Linked DNA regions of Homo sapiens: region 1 is linked to region 2. The links are contacts of gene promoters, found by promoter capture Hi-C in blood cells and fetal thymus (Javierre and others, 2016). All regions are on one chromosome and are shown on one strand. The core of a region is centred on a gene start or on the middle of the fragment in contact, and the rest is flanking DNA. Distances in the headings are between cores, read along the strand shown. Region 1 holds the start of UBA6 (ubiquitin like modifier activating enzyme 6). Region 2 holds the start of GRSF1 (G-rich RNA sequence binding factor 1).

Evidence for each region. The method cuts DNA at HindIII sites, captures the fragments that hold promoters and counts their contacts. A CHiCAGO score of 5 or more calls a contact.
Region 1: the fragment with the promoter of UBA6 here is called in contact with the fragment with the promoter of GRSF1 in region 2 in 1 of 17 cell types (total CD8 T cells); the score reaches 8.6 in total CD8 T cells.

The regions. Positions count from the first base shown.
Region 1 is chr4:67,699,807-67,707,015 of GRCh38, forward strand. It overlaps UBA6 (ubiquitin like modifier activating enzyme 6), which reads right to left and starts at 1,349. Exons shown (of 33, transcript NM_018227.6): 1 at 1,243-1,349. The coding sequence starts at 1,313. UBA6-DT (UBA6 divergent transcript) reads left to right here and starts at 1,472. Exons shown (of 2, transcript NR_015439.1): 1 at 1,472-1,678. RefSeq lists silencers at 1,073-1,242, 1,373-1,442. The HindIII fragment of the contact is 4,018 bases long and covers 1-2,283 here.
Region 2 is chr4:70,836,272-70,842,771 of GRCh38, forward strand. GRSF1 (G-rich RNA sequence binding factor 1) reads right to left here and starts at 3,619. Exons shown (of 10, transcript NM_002092.4): 1 at 3,200-3,619; 2 at 1-43. The coding sequence starts at 3,556. LOC124900710 (a long non-coding RNA gene) reads left to right here and starts at 2,721. Exons shown (of 3, transcript XR_007058131.1): 1 at 2,721-2,874. RefSeq lists enhancers at 2,322-2,976, 2,977-3,630 and silencers at 3,027-3,576, 3,637-3,886. The HindIII fragment of the contact is 9,073 bases long and covers 2,162-6,500 here.

The DNA of each region.
Region 1 (7,209 bases), core at 99-2,598, 3.1 Mb before region 2:
TGCCCAGGCTAGTCTAAGAACTCCTGAGCTCAAGCGACCCGCCTGCTTCGACCTCCCAAAGCGCTGGGATTGCAAGCGTTTGAGCCACTGCGCCCGGCCAAAGTTTTTTATTATCTACTTTCCTATCATTTTATCCCTAGTACACTTTCACTTGCTGTTTTCCTTGCATGGCGGGGGCAATAGGCCTGGTGGGTAAATCTGAATAAAAACGAGAACAGCTGCAGTCTAACTAGCTCTGCCACTTAATGGCGTGACTGGCCCTTTTCAGAAAGTTGTGCCTCACTGGAATGTTTCAAAAATATGTAAAAATAATATGATCTATAAGACAATCAAAAACGCTTCAAATAAGGCGCGGGTTATATTACATAATATCCCTCCACTCTGGCAGTGTTGGCAATGGCAGACAACACCATGAAACTGAAAGCATCCCTTCAGTCTGAAACTGGCGAAAAGGCTACAGGTTTACAAAGTCTCACATCAGCTGAAAATAATACATCCATCAATTCTATCTTTGGCATGGTGTATTCTGACAGTGGTGGATAGAATGTAACCACTTGCTTTATTAATTATGAGATGATTGAAAGAGGAACTACTAACCAAGAAATTGGTAAAGGCCTAGCACAAATATTTTCCCCCTAATTTTACAGGGGCGGGAAAGACCTGAAGAACTTCAAAACCAAGTGGGAAATAAGAATGGGTAACTTGTGTATTTTTTTTTCCTGGCTTTTTTTTTTTCCTTCTTCCGAAGTCAACAAAGGCCTCAGGGTGTCCAGATTGCTACTGATTCATTCTTACCAAGTTCCTTCTGGTAATAGTTTTCAAAAGAGGATCTCAGTGGAGGTGCACAGTGGCGCTCCTAGCTTTCTTTTTACGGAAAGGAGGAAAGGTGCTTGGCACCAGTCGGGGAAGCTCACGCCAAGTGACCGAGACCAGAACTCGCTCTCGACCGGAGCCCCCCAAGTCTGGTGACTTGGAGGAAGGAGGATCCCGAATCCCAGCCAGAACTGAGAAAGCCCTCAAAGGTGCGGAAAGGGGACTTTTCCCTCAGGAAAGCCGGCAACAGCAGAGGCCCTAGCCCACGTCGCCACACCCACTCCGCGCGCGCCCCTCGCCTCCCAGGGCCGGCTCTGCTCGGCCCCGCGGCCTCTCGGGCGCCCCCAGCCCGCCGGAAAGAAAGAAGCAGAAACCCGGAGCCTGGGTCCCACCCGCGACCCCTCACCTTCGCCCTTCTCGTCCTCTCACCTGCCAGTCCCCCAGGAAGAACAGGACGCCTCTTCCCCCTGATGGGCGGCCACAGGCTCGGATCCTTCCATTGCCGCCTGAGACACCGCCGCCGGCTACTGGAAGGTAGGAAGGGGCGGGACCGTGGGGGGGTCAAGGGGCGGGCGGAGACGTCATCAGAGGGGGCGGGCCTGGGGAAGCTAGGAGCCCGGCAGCGCCTTCCCGTCAACCCTAGGGGCGTCCTGGTTTCCGGTTTGGGTGTGGCCGCATGGCGTGCTGTGGTGCAGGTGGCCGAAGGGGGCGTTACTGTTGCGACTGGCATCCGCATCCGGCAGATGTAGATGGAACCAAAGTCCAGAAGTTACGCGTCACCCTTGCTCTACAGCCAAACATGCAGGACTCTAGTAACCCGCGAAATGATGGGATAGCGTTGCAAATCCTTAAAAGAGTCTTAACGGTAAGAAGAGGAAACAGCTTTATTTTATAAATAAACTGAAGGCTGCTAATAGCTCCAGATTGTCAGTGAGGGGATACCACTTAAAGATGTTATACATTTAATAAATAATTTTGGGAGTCCACTACATGTGAGGCGCTGCCTCAGATTTAATAGAATCATGTGACTTTTAGTGCCATAGATGTCGTTAGATCATCCAGTTTGGTCCCTTAAATTTGTGGGTAAGGGAAAGGAACTTCCGGTCAGTGCAAGTGACTTGGTCAAGGTTATAGAGCTAGTCACTGTTAGATTACCAGAACACATATCTAAAAAGTTCTCATATAATTCTTTTTCATTTACTTCCGTGTCACCTTTCTTAGAAAGCAAAAATGAGTTGGACACAATAACATTAGGATTTGTCTTTCACTAAATAACACTGTATATTTGAATAAACATCTGCAGGATTTTTAAAATTAGCATATACTTTGGGTATTATGTAATTTTCTGTGATGTATCATATTTTTAATTAGAAATTTTTCCTCTCATATGGAGATGAGGGTCCAGGCAAAACTGTATTATCCTTCGTGCCCTCTATTCTCTTCAAAATTGCACATCTTAAAATACCTGGAAGCTTTATGTTGCTCACCTATAGCATTATCCGTGTTCCTCAATCCAGTTGTGAACCTTTTCCACATTAAAATGTTCTTGATCTGTGTTCTATTCTTTCAAGGCTCTGCTCTAGCACTAAGATAATGCTACAGGACTGAAGATAATGAAAAAGATTGAAGAAAGCAGAAACAGAACAAAAATCAGATTATTTCAAAGTTTCTTTCCTTGTAAAGGTTAAAACAGAGCATACTTCCTTATTATGCCCACTAGGTTAACTAGAATCTCCTGTTTTTTTAAAAAAAACTGGCTCATTTTTTCAAAATCCACTTTAATTACATGGTGCTTAGCACAAGCAACTCCATTCTGGTTTGATCTGATGGGGCCTAGTGTAGAAGGCTAGGCCAAAACAATGGCCTGCCATTACCCACGCTTCTTCATATTTTAACATCCATGAATAGAGGATGAATTTTTAAAAAATAAATACAGAAAACGATGCATCTTAAAATTGAGGGCATGTTAGATTTGATAAAATATGGTGTGAATTATTTCAGGCATGTAACAAGCAACCAGATTTAACAGATTTTAATGTTTTGTCACATATGTAAAATGGGAAAGAAAACTAGGCGATCACAGCTTTTTGACAGTGAGGCTTTATGTCATAAGAAAGTAGAATGACATATTGAGGAAACTTAAGGGAAAAATATGTAGGCCAAAGATTTTACATTCAGCAAAACTAATATACAAAAGGTACAAACTGTTATCAACAATTGATATATCAATTTGGTGAGACTAGTGTTTTCATGAGCCCCTCCTTAATAATTAATTGGAGAAAGTGTCTGACAATCAGAATTATTACAGAAACATTGATCTAAGGATTGACTCGGTTTCTTTACAGCAAATCATAATCTGTTGCATTTATTAGCTTTTGTGTTTCTTGTAGTTTATTCTTTATTACTAATTCTCCTGAGTTCTGTCACCTCATTTCTGAGGTTTTTCTAATTCAGAATCAAGTTCTTCCATATCTTTTATCATTTCTCTAATGTCATTTAGCTAGTTTCAAAATAATAAATTGTTTTGTAGTGCATCTTTCAGGCATGTTTTTATTATCTTTGATGATGATGTTATATTCCTTATTCTCTTCACATAATAACTGCATGGATTTGAACTTGATGCTTTTTTTGTTGCTCTTTTTTTTTTTTTTTTTTTTTTTTTTTTGAGACAGAGCCTTGCTCTGTTGCCCAGGTTGGAGTGCAGTGGCGGGATCTTGGCTCACTGCAAGTTCTGCCTCCCGGATTCACGCCATTCTCCTGCCTCAGCCTCCCGAGTAGCTGGAACTACAGGCACCTGCCACCACGCCCGGCTAATTTTTTGTATTTTTAGTAGAGACGGGGTTTCACCGTGTTAGCCAGGATGGTCTCGATCTCCTGACCTCGTGATCCACCCCTTGGCCTCCCAAAGTGCTGGGATTACAGGCGTGAGTTATTGCTCATTTTTATGTGAAATTGGTGTTCCTGAACTAATATGAGACAGGCTTCTTAGCCCAATAAGCCTAAGTTTATCAGGAACAAAACTGTATTCCAAGAAAGTCAGGTATATTAGTCTGTTTTCACACTGCTATAAAGAAATACCCGAGACTGGGTAATTTATAAAGGAAAGAGATTTAGTTGACTCACAGTTCCACATGGCTGGGGAGTCCTCAGGAAACTTAAATCATAGCAGAAGGTGAAGGAGAAGCAAGACATATCTTACACGGTGGCAGGAGAGAAGTGAGATCGTGGGAAAACTGCCACTTTTAAAACCATCAGATCTCATGAGAACTCCCTCATTATCACAAGAATAGCATGGGGGAACTGCCCCCATAATCTAATCACCTCCCACCAGGTCTCTCCTTGCACACATGGGAATTAAAATTTGAAGTGAGATTTGGGTGGGGACACAGAGCAGACCATATCATCAGGTTTACTGGCTCATTGCAAGGAGGGAGCCCACATTCCAGAAGAACCATGGGGTACCTCACCAACAGAGGAAGAGATAGATTTATTGTAGGAATTTGGGGAAGTATGGAGTTTAGAAGGAATTGAAATGAAGTAGTGCTTTGATAGACTCAAAAGAAAGCAAGGCTGTTTGTAAAGAATTCTACACTACATCTAAACTATTACTAATGGCAAAAACTGCAATTACTTTTGCACCAACGTAATACAAGATGGACCCAGGGTTCTGTTTTTTGGAAATTGCAAAGTTCTGCCTCTCAGAAGTAGAAACTATTTCTCTGTGTCAATGTGACTTTAGATATTCTAGCCAAGAGTGAGATATTTCAATCTTAATAATAGGATTTAAACAGCAGAGTTTTTGACAATCTTTTGATATTGTCATAAATGTTCTATGATTTTAGAGAAAAGGGCATTGTGTGAGTAAAAAATCAGTTACTCTAAGGGTGTGTGTGTGTGTGTGTGTGTGTGTGTGTGTGTGTGTGTGTTTGAGACATTTTAAAGCATCTTCCAGAGAGAAATAGTATTTTCTGTTAATTTCACAGCTGGCTTTATTTATGCCTGTTATCCCATAGCTGATGAATGGCAAAGCAGATTTTTACTTTCTTATTCTATGCTTATTTGCTTTCTCACAGGTTTTGGGAAAACTTTTCTAATTTCAGAGAATTCCCTTTTCTGTTGCTTTTGTGTAATGTTCAGCAATATTATGGTTTTATTTCCTTTTTAAATTAATACATACATAATAAGCATATATTTATGGGGTATTTTGATATTTGCGTACAAGGTATAATGATAAAACCAAGGTAATTGTGATATCCATCACCTCAAACATTGTTTATTTCTTTGTGTTAGGAACATTTCACATCTTGCCTTCTAGCTATTTTGAAATATATGATAAATTATTGTTAACTATAGTCACCCTCTAGTGCTATCGAACACTAGAAATTGTTTCCTCTATCTAATTGTATTTTTGTACCCATTACGCAACCTTTTTCATCCTCCTTACCCCCAACCTTCCCAGCCTCTGGTAACCATCATTCTACTCTCTACTGCCATGAGATCCACTTTTTTAGCTCTCACTTATGAGTGAGAATATGTGCTATTTGTCTTTCTATGCCTGGCATTTCACTTAACATAATGACCTCCAGTTCCATCTATGGTGCTTCAAACTACATGATTTCATGTTTTTGTGTAGATGACACATTTTTAAAATCCATTCATCTGTTGATGGACACTTAGATTGATTCCATATCTTGGCTATTGTGAATAGTACTGTAATAAACATGGGCATGCAGATACCTTTTAAATTTATTGAATTCCGTTTTTGGATGTATACTCAGGAATGGGATTGTTGGATCATGTGGTAGATCTATTTTTAGATTTTTGAGAAACTTCCATACTGTTTTTCATAGTTTCTGTACTAATTTACGTTCCCACCAGCAATGCACTAGTGTTCTCCTTTTGCCACATCCTCACCAGCATCTGTTATTTTCTGCCTTTTTGGTAATAGTAATCTTAACTGAGGTGAGATGATGTCTTATTGTGGTTTTGATTTGCATTTCCCTGGTGACTGGTGATGTTGAGCATTTTTTCATATGTCTGTTGGCCATTTATATGTCTTCTTTTGATAAATGCCTGTTTAGATCATTTGCCCATTTTAAAATTGGATTATTTGGGGGTTTTTGCTATGGAGTTGTTTGAGTTCCTTATATATTCTGATTATTAATCTCTTGTATGAGTAGTTTTCAAATATTTTCTTCCATTCACTGGGTTGTCTGTTCTCTGTATTGATTGTTTACTTTGCTCTACGGAAGGATTTTAGCTTGATGTAATTCCGTTTGTCTATTTTTGCTTTGGTTGCCTGTACCTTTGAGGTCTTACCCCAAAAATTTTTGCTCAGACCAGTGTCCTAAAGTATGTCCTCAATGTTTTCTTCTAGGAGTGTCATAGGTTCAGGTCTTACAAGTAAGGCTTTAATGCATTTTGATTTGATTTTTGCCTATGATGAGATATAGCAATCTAATTTCATTTTTCTGCATATGGATATTCAGTTTTTCCCAGCACCATTTATTGAAAAGACTGTCCTTTCCCCACTGAATGTCTTTAACACCTTTGTTGAAAATAAGTTGAACTTTACTGAATTTGTTTATCAACTTCAAGAGTACTTTGATGAAGCTTTTAGGACTTTTTAAAAAGTGTAATATCATGTTTTCTGCAAATAGGTACAATTTCACTTTCTCCTTTACAGTTTGAATGCCTTTTGTTTCTCTATTCTCTACATGTTCTCTCCTGTTTCATTGCTCTATGTGTATGTTTTTATACCAATACCATAATCCTTTGTAGTATATTTTGAAGTCTACTGTGATGCCTCCAGCTTTGTTCTTTTTGCTCAGGATTGCTATGGCTATTCATGGTCTTTTGTGGTTCCATATGAACGCTAGGAGTTTTTTTTCTATTTCTGTGAAGAATGTCATTGGAATTTTGATAGTAATTGCATTGAATCTGTGGATGACTTTTGGCATTGTGGTCATTTAAAAAATATCAATTCTTCCAGTCTGTGAGCATGTGATACCTTTTCATTTTTTGTGTGTGACCTCTTCAATTTCCTTAATCAGTGTTTCATAATTTTCCTTATAAGAATTTTTCATCTCCTTGGTTACATTTATTTCTAGGGTGTATTACTCCATTTTCACACTGCTGATAAAGACGTACCTGAGACTGGGCAATTTACAAAAGAAAGGTTTATTGGACTTACCGTTCCGCATGGCTGGGGAGGCCTCACAATCATGGTGGAAGGTGAAAGGCACATCTTACATGGTAGCAGACAAGAGAAGAGAACTTGTGCAGGGAAACTCCCCTTTTAAAAACCATCAGATCTCATGAGACTCATTCACTATCACTGGACAGTACAGGAAAGACCTGCTCCCATAATTCAATCACCTACCACTGGCTTGCTCC
Region 2 (6,500 bases), core at 2,369-4,868:
CAGGGGGTGGTGGAAGGTCTTCCAGGTAAGTAGTTTTGGACTCCTTCCAAAGGAAATGAAGAATTGTAAAAAGAGTTGCATTTACAGGTAAAAAATGTAAAAAAATTCTTAGAAAATGTTTATTCTACAAACTAACATTCTAGATGTTATTTCAGAAGCAAAAAGTAAACTTCACCAATGTAACCCATCCTGTTTTGGCTTAAATTGTACATCCAAAAGCCATAAGCAGGTATATCCTAAAGGTTTGGCAGGACACAAATTTCATTCAGGGTTTGTTTTAAAATTCATCAACCCCAAATTATAGCTAACAATAGTGTAGTTAAGGCAACACAAGAAAGGTCCTGACAATTTGACAAATATTTGATTGCCCCTACACACAGTGTTTGCCGCCCTCATCTGAAATAGCTATCTAGAATACGATAAGCATACAAGATGAGATACTGAGTGCTATAATTAAGATACAAAATACTACAGGAATTCAAATCAGAGCACTAACAGATGAATCAGGATGTGACATGAGATGGGCCTTGAAGGAAGGATAGAATTTTTATGAGGATATAAAAGATAGGGTATTCCAGTTTGAAGGCGAGAGAAAGAAGCAGTACGACCAAATGCCCATTTGAATAACAGCAATTAATTCCAACTGTTTAAATTAGGAGCCAAAGAAGGTGACCTGGCAAAAGAGGTTGGTACCATAGAGCAGAGGGCCTTGAGTGTGGAGCTCAATGTGTGTCCTTCACTTGGTAGGCAAAGATAAGTTAATACAAGACACTGAGGACTGGGTAAATCAACAAGACAGCAGGACGCCTTGGGAATATTCCTCTGTCAGCTGGTATGCCAGACCAAGTGATTAAGGGAAAGATCTTAAAGACAACGGCAGCAGTGTGAGGCTACAGACTTGTAAAGTCTCTTTTATCGGATTAAGTAAAACTGGAATTTAGTAAGAATCCACGAAGCACTACAACCATAACCTAAGAAGACAACTCAGGCTTTAAGACTTGCACTCTACTGGGCCAGGTGCGGTGGCTCACGCCTGTAATCCCAGCACCTTGGGAGGCCGAGGTGGGCGAATCACGAGGTCAGGAGTTCAAGACCAGCCTGGCCAACATGGCAAAACCCCATCTCTACTAAAAATACAAAAAATGAGCCGGGTGTGGTGGCGTGTGCCCGTAATCCCAGCTACTCGGGAGGCTGAGGCAGGATAATCGCCTGAACCCGGGAGGTAGAGGTTTCAGTGAGCTGAGATCTCGGCATTTCACTCCAGCATGGGCAACAGAGCAAGACTCCGTCTCAAAAAAAAAAAAAAAAAAAGACTTGCACTCTACCGGACTAAGGACAGAGATATCTTTCTACTATCTGTCATTTTCTTTTCTTTTCTTTTTTCTTGAGACGGAGTTTCGCTCTTGTCGCCCAGACTAGAGTATAATGGCACAATCTCGGCTCACTGCAACCTCCCCGGGTTCAAAGGATTCTCCTGCCTCAGCCTCCCGGGTAGCTGGGATTACAGGCGCCCGCCACCCCGCCCGGCTAATTTTTTTGCATTTTTTTAGTAGACACGGAGTTTCACCATGTTGGTTAGCCTGCTATCGAACTCCTGACCTCAGGTGATCCACCCGCCGCAGCCTCCCAAAGTGCCGCGCCCAGCCCTATCTATAATTTTCATTAAGGCTTAATGTTAGGCCGGGCGCGGTGGCTCACGCCTGTAATCCCAGCACTTTGGGAGGCAGAGGCGGGCGGATCACGAGGTCAGGAGATCGAGACCACGGTGAAACCCCGTCTCTACTAAAAATACAAAAAATTAGCTGGGCGCAGTGGCGGGCGCCTGTAGTCCCAGCTACTCGGGAGGCTGAAGCAGGAGAATGGCGTGAACCCGGAAGGCGGAGCTTGCAGTGAGCCGAGATCATTCCACTGCACTCCAGCCTGGGCGACAGAGCGAGACTCGGTCTCCAAAAAAAAAAAAAAAAAAAGGCTTAATGTTTAGTTTTAAGGAATAAATGTAAGCAGTGTCTAACACATAGTAGATGCTCTACAGATATCACCGCAGTCAATTTCATAGAAAAAAAAAGAGAGAAGCTAGCTCACAAAGGTTTACTGGAGATGGTTTTGTTGTGGTTTTTGTAGACAACTTTCCCCATTTTTCCATAATTCCATAAGCATCACAAGCTTTTACAGAAAAAGGCAGCGTAAAGTATTGGGCCAGGATTCAAATCAATTAGCTCAGCCACTGGCAGACAGCAGCCATGCTGATTAGCCTCCCAGTCTCCCTAAGTTAAAGGAGAAGCACAAATTGAATTAAGATAAATATGACCTAAGGAATCAGGGGCTGGGTAGTTAAAAAGTGTGCAGACACTTCCCAGATGCCACGTACCAAGAAGAGAAAGGTTCATCTACAAAGCACAAAATATTTGCAATCTAACTACACACCGACTTTTCTAAAAAAATAAAGAAAAAATGGAAAGGAAAACATTGCAAATTCATTCCTGGGACCCCAAGTTGTGTCCTCAACCCTCAACGCTCCCTCCCATTCACCCCCTCCCCCCAACAGCTAAATCTCCAAACTGCTTTCCCAGACGAGGCGACACACAGTCCTTAAAGACCTTCTGTATGAGTGGAGTTGCAGAGGTGACCTTCAGTAAACCGGGACAGCTCGTCTTTCCCTGGGGACAGGAGAGGGAACGGCGCGATGGGGACAGGCTCCTTCCCTACAAGCCAGCCCACGCAACTGTGTGCGCGCACCTTCCCAGCAGCGGCCGACCGAGAGGCGCCGAGGGCCGCCCAGGCCTAGCGCTCGGGCTGCACGGAAACTCCCAACCCTCCGGCGGGCTCGGGCCTCGCAACTTCACAACCAGCCGGCGGAAAGCAAGAAGATGCGAGGTGGGGGCGTCAGCAGCCTCACGAAACCTACCATGGGCCAGGCGGGGAACAAGGCCTCAACATTCACCCCAGCCACACTTACACTGCCCAACCGACCAGAGACTCGAGGCGAGAACAAAACAAGCAGAAGACCCGACGCCTGGGAGAGCTTCCCTTGTTCCAGGGCCCAATAGGAGCACAGGGTGGACGGGGGCGGGTGTGCGGCGAGTGTCGCGGATCCCCGGGCGTGCCCGCGAGGCGCACACGGAGGGACGGAGGGGCGCGGGGGCGCGTGCACGCGGCCCGGGAGGGATCTCGCGCCAGGTCCCTCACGGCGCCCACGTACCTGGCTGTAGCTGCGCGTCGGGACGGCGGCCGCCGCCGCCAGCGACTGCGGCAGCAGAGAGGCACGGAGGGCAGAGTAGGACGCGGCGGCCGCGGCCGCGGCAGAGGTGGCCACAGCGGGAGGCCCCGCCAGCCTCCCGGGAGGCACAGGCCCGGTCTGGAGGCCACGCGTCTGGGAGGCAGCGGCCGCGGCGGCCCCGAGCAGCAGCAGCAGGCGGCGGCGGCCCGAGACGCCCGACGGGATAGAGCCAGCGGCGGAGTAGAAGGGCAGGCAGGCGGCGCCGGTGCGCCGGCAGCTGCTGCAGTTACAGCCGCAGCCCCGGAGCAGCGCCCCGAGTACCCAGCGCGTGCCGGCCATGGACTCCGGAGGCGGCGCAGGGCCTGAAGGCAGCTGCTCCAGCAGCGATGGTGGAACGGAAGTGGAATCCAGGGCCGGTTGGGGGTGGGGTGTGCCTGGCACATGCGCCGCGGGCACTGGGTGGGGGGCCTCCGAGAGTCGGAAGGAGGTGGAGGAGAGCGCGACGCTCCGCCCAGTCTCCGCCCTTGGGCGGGGCTGCCCATGGTTTGGGCGGGGCTGCCCATGGTTTGGGCGGGGCTGCCCATGGTTTGGGCGGGGCTGCCCATGGTTTGGGCGGGGCTGCCCATGGTTTGGGCGGGGCTGCCCATGGTTTGGGCGGGGCTGCCCATGGTTTGGGCGGGGCTGCCCATGGTTTGGGCGGGGCTGCCCATGGTTTGGGCGGGGCTGCCCATGGTTTGGGCGGGGCTGCCCATGGTTTGGGCGGGGCCCGGGGAAGTGGGTGCAATCGAACTGCTCTTTTTTCAGGCGGTGGAAACTGAGGCCCAAAGTAAGTGAGGCTAGGGGCCTGGCGCAGTGACTCATTCGTAGTGACTCATTCTTGTAATCCTAGCACTTTGGCAGGCAGAGGCGGGTGGACTGCCTGAGGTCAGGAGTTCGAGACCAACCTAGGCAACACGGTGAAATCCCGTCTCTACTAAAATACAAAAAATTAGGTCGGACGCGGTGGCTCCCGCCTGTAATCCCAGCACTTTAGTAGGCCGAGGTAGGGCGGATCACCTGAGGTCAGCAGTTCAAGACCAGCCTGGCCAACATGGTGAAACTGTGTCTCTACTAAAAACACAAAAATTAGCCGGGTGTGGTGACGGGTGCCCGTAATCCCAGCTACTCAGGAGGCTGAGGCAGGAGAATCGCTTGAACCCAGGAGGCGGAGGTTGCAGTGAGCCAAGATCGTGCCACCGCACTGCAGCCTGGGCGACAGAGTGAGACGCCATCTCCAAACAAACAAACAAAAAAATTAGGTTAGGGCCATCCTGCTCTGGGTAGGGCCGAGAGCTGTAGCACAAGTCTGTGCTGCCCTGCGCTGTGCCACCGAAACCCGTGGTGTGAGTGGCTAAAGAACCCTTTCTGAAAGGAATTGTGATACCTTGGTTATAAAAAAATCGTTGGGATAATATCAGAGATTTGGTACCCCCCGAATTTGAGGTATGTGAGGAAGGAGAACTTCGTTGTTTTAAAATGAAATATAGGCCTGGCGTGGTGGCTCATGCCTATAATCCCAGCGCTTTGGGAGGCTGAAGTGAGAGGATCACTGGAGCCCAAGAGTTCCAGACCAGCCTGGGCAACATAGGGAGACCCCGTCTATACAAAAAATAAATAAAGCTGGGTGTGATGGCGTGGGCCTGTAGTCCCAGCTACTTGGGAGGCCGATTGCTTCAGCCCAGAAGGTAGAGGCTGTGGTAAGCTATGATTGCCACCACTGAACTCCAGCCTGGGTGACAGAGTGAAACCCTGTCTCTAAAAAAATAAAAGAAAACATATATATTTATTATGTACTGATAATACATAACAAAGGTGAACCCTCCCCTAATGAAACTGTATTCACAAGTGAACACACAGAGATTTGCACACACATACACAAAGACTGGTTGTGCAGCTTTTCTCCTCCTGAGCCAGGACTTGTCAAAGACAAGCAAAAGGAAGTTGTTAGAGTAAAAAATAAGAGAAAGCTAGTATTTTTAAAAACTCCTTACTGTGGAAAATGTCAAACAGAAGAGCAGAATGAATTTCCAGAACTTCATAAATTGTCAACACTTTTCAGTCTTGTTTCATCTATCCCCTACCACCATCTTCCAGACCTTATTTTCTTTGCTAGAATATTTTAAAGCAATGGGTATTACATTTAAAGTTTGACTTGTTTAACCTGGACTACTTTTAGGTAAGGAAAATTCAGTATTTCTTAGAAAACCCTTTCCCCAACCAAAAAACAAAGAACAAGAAAAAAATTGATAGGCTTGGCTCTATGAACCTGGAGTATCAAAGAAAAAGGGGTTTAGTTTTGTTTTTTGGGCTAAAATACAGTCCGACGGAGAGTATTGTCATTTTTATACAAAAACAGGGACAAAAGAAAAGGCAACAGTGCAAATACTCCATCTTCCAGGAAGGGAGGCTGGGATGCCTCAGTGTTAAAATGACAAAAGAAAACCCCAGAGCAAGAACCATGATCCCTCAGAGGAGTCCCAGAAATGTCCAAGACAGCCTGGCTGGGAGAGGGGGTGTGGGAAGGGCAGGCCCCCAAGAGAGGTCCCCACATCCTCTGGCTAGAGGCTAGGCCCAGGACCCACCAATGCCAGCAGCCCTCACCTCCCTTTGGGGTGAGAGCAGGTGCTGAGGTCAGGCTGGTTTTTGTTTCCCACTGCTTGTTCGTGATTTGTTCTTGGATACCTGGAAAGGGGCCAGTTGAGGCCTCAGGGGTTGAGGCCCCTCTGGAAATGTGGTTCCTGGGAATGGGCCTGGACATAGAAGCCACTGGATGTCTCTTCCCTGAACAGTAATTTTGTTCATCAGTAATCCTGTAACTTCCCAAGGAAAACAAAGAACAGGCTAGTCTTCCCCACCCCAGCCAAAAAAGAGAAGGGGGTTTCTTCATCTGCAAGATTTGGGAATCCTAGAGTTACTTATTTATATAGAGACAGGGTTTTGCTCTTTTGCCCGAGCTGGGGTGCAGTGGTGGGAATATGACTCACACTAGCCTTGACCTCCCGGGTTCAAGTAATCCTCCTGCCTCAGCCTCCCAAAGTGCTTGGGATTACAAGCATGAACCACCACACCTGACCTATTTTTCTTTTCGTAAGCCTCCCTTTCAAGAAGGAAAATGGGTTAGCCCTTCCTAACAGATCATCACTACAAATAACAGGTTGCTGATGTATTGGAGACTCTGCCTATATTTACTCTTGCCCTCATTTTCTTAATAGCAGCAGTCATCATCTATAACATAAAAATCTGA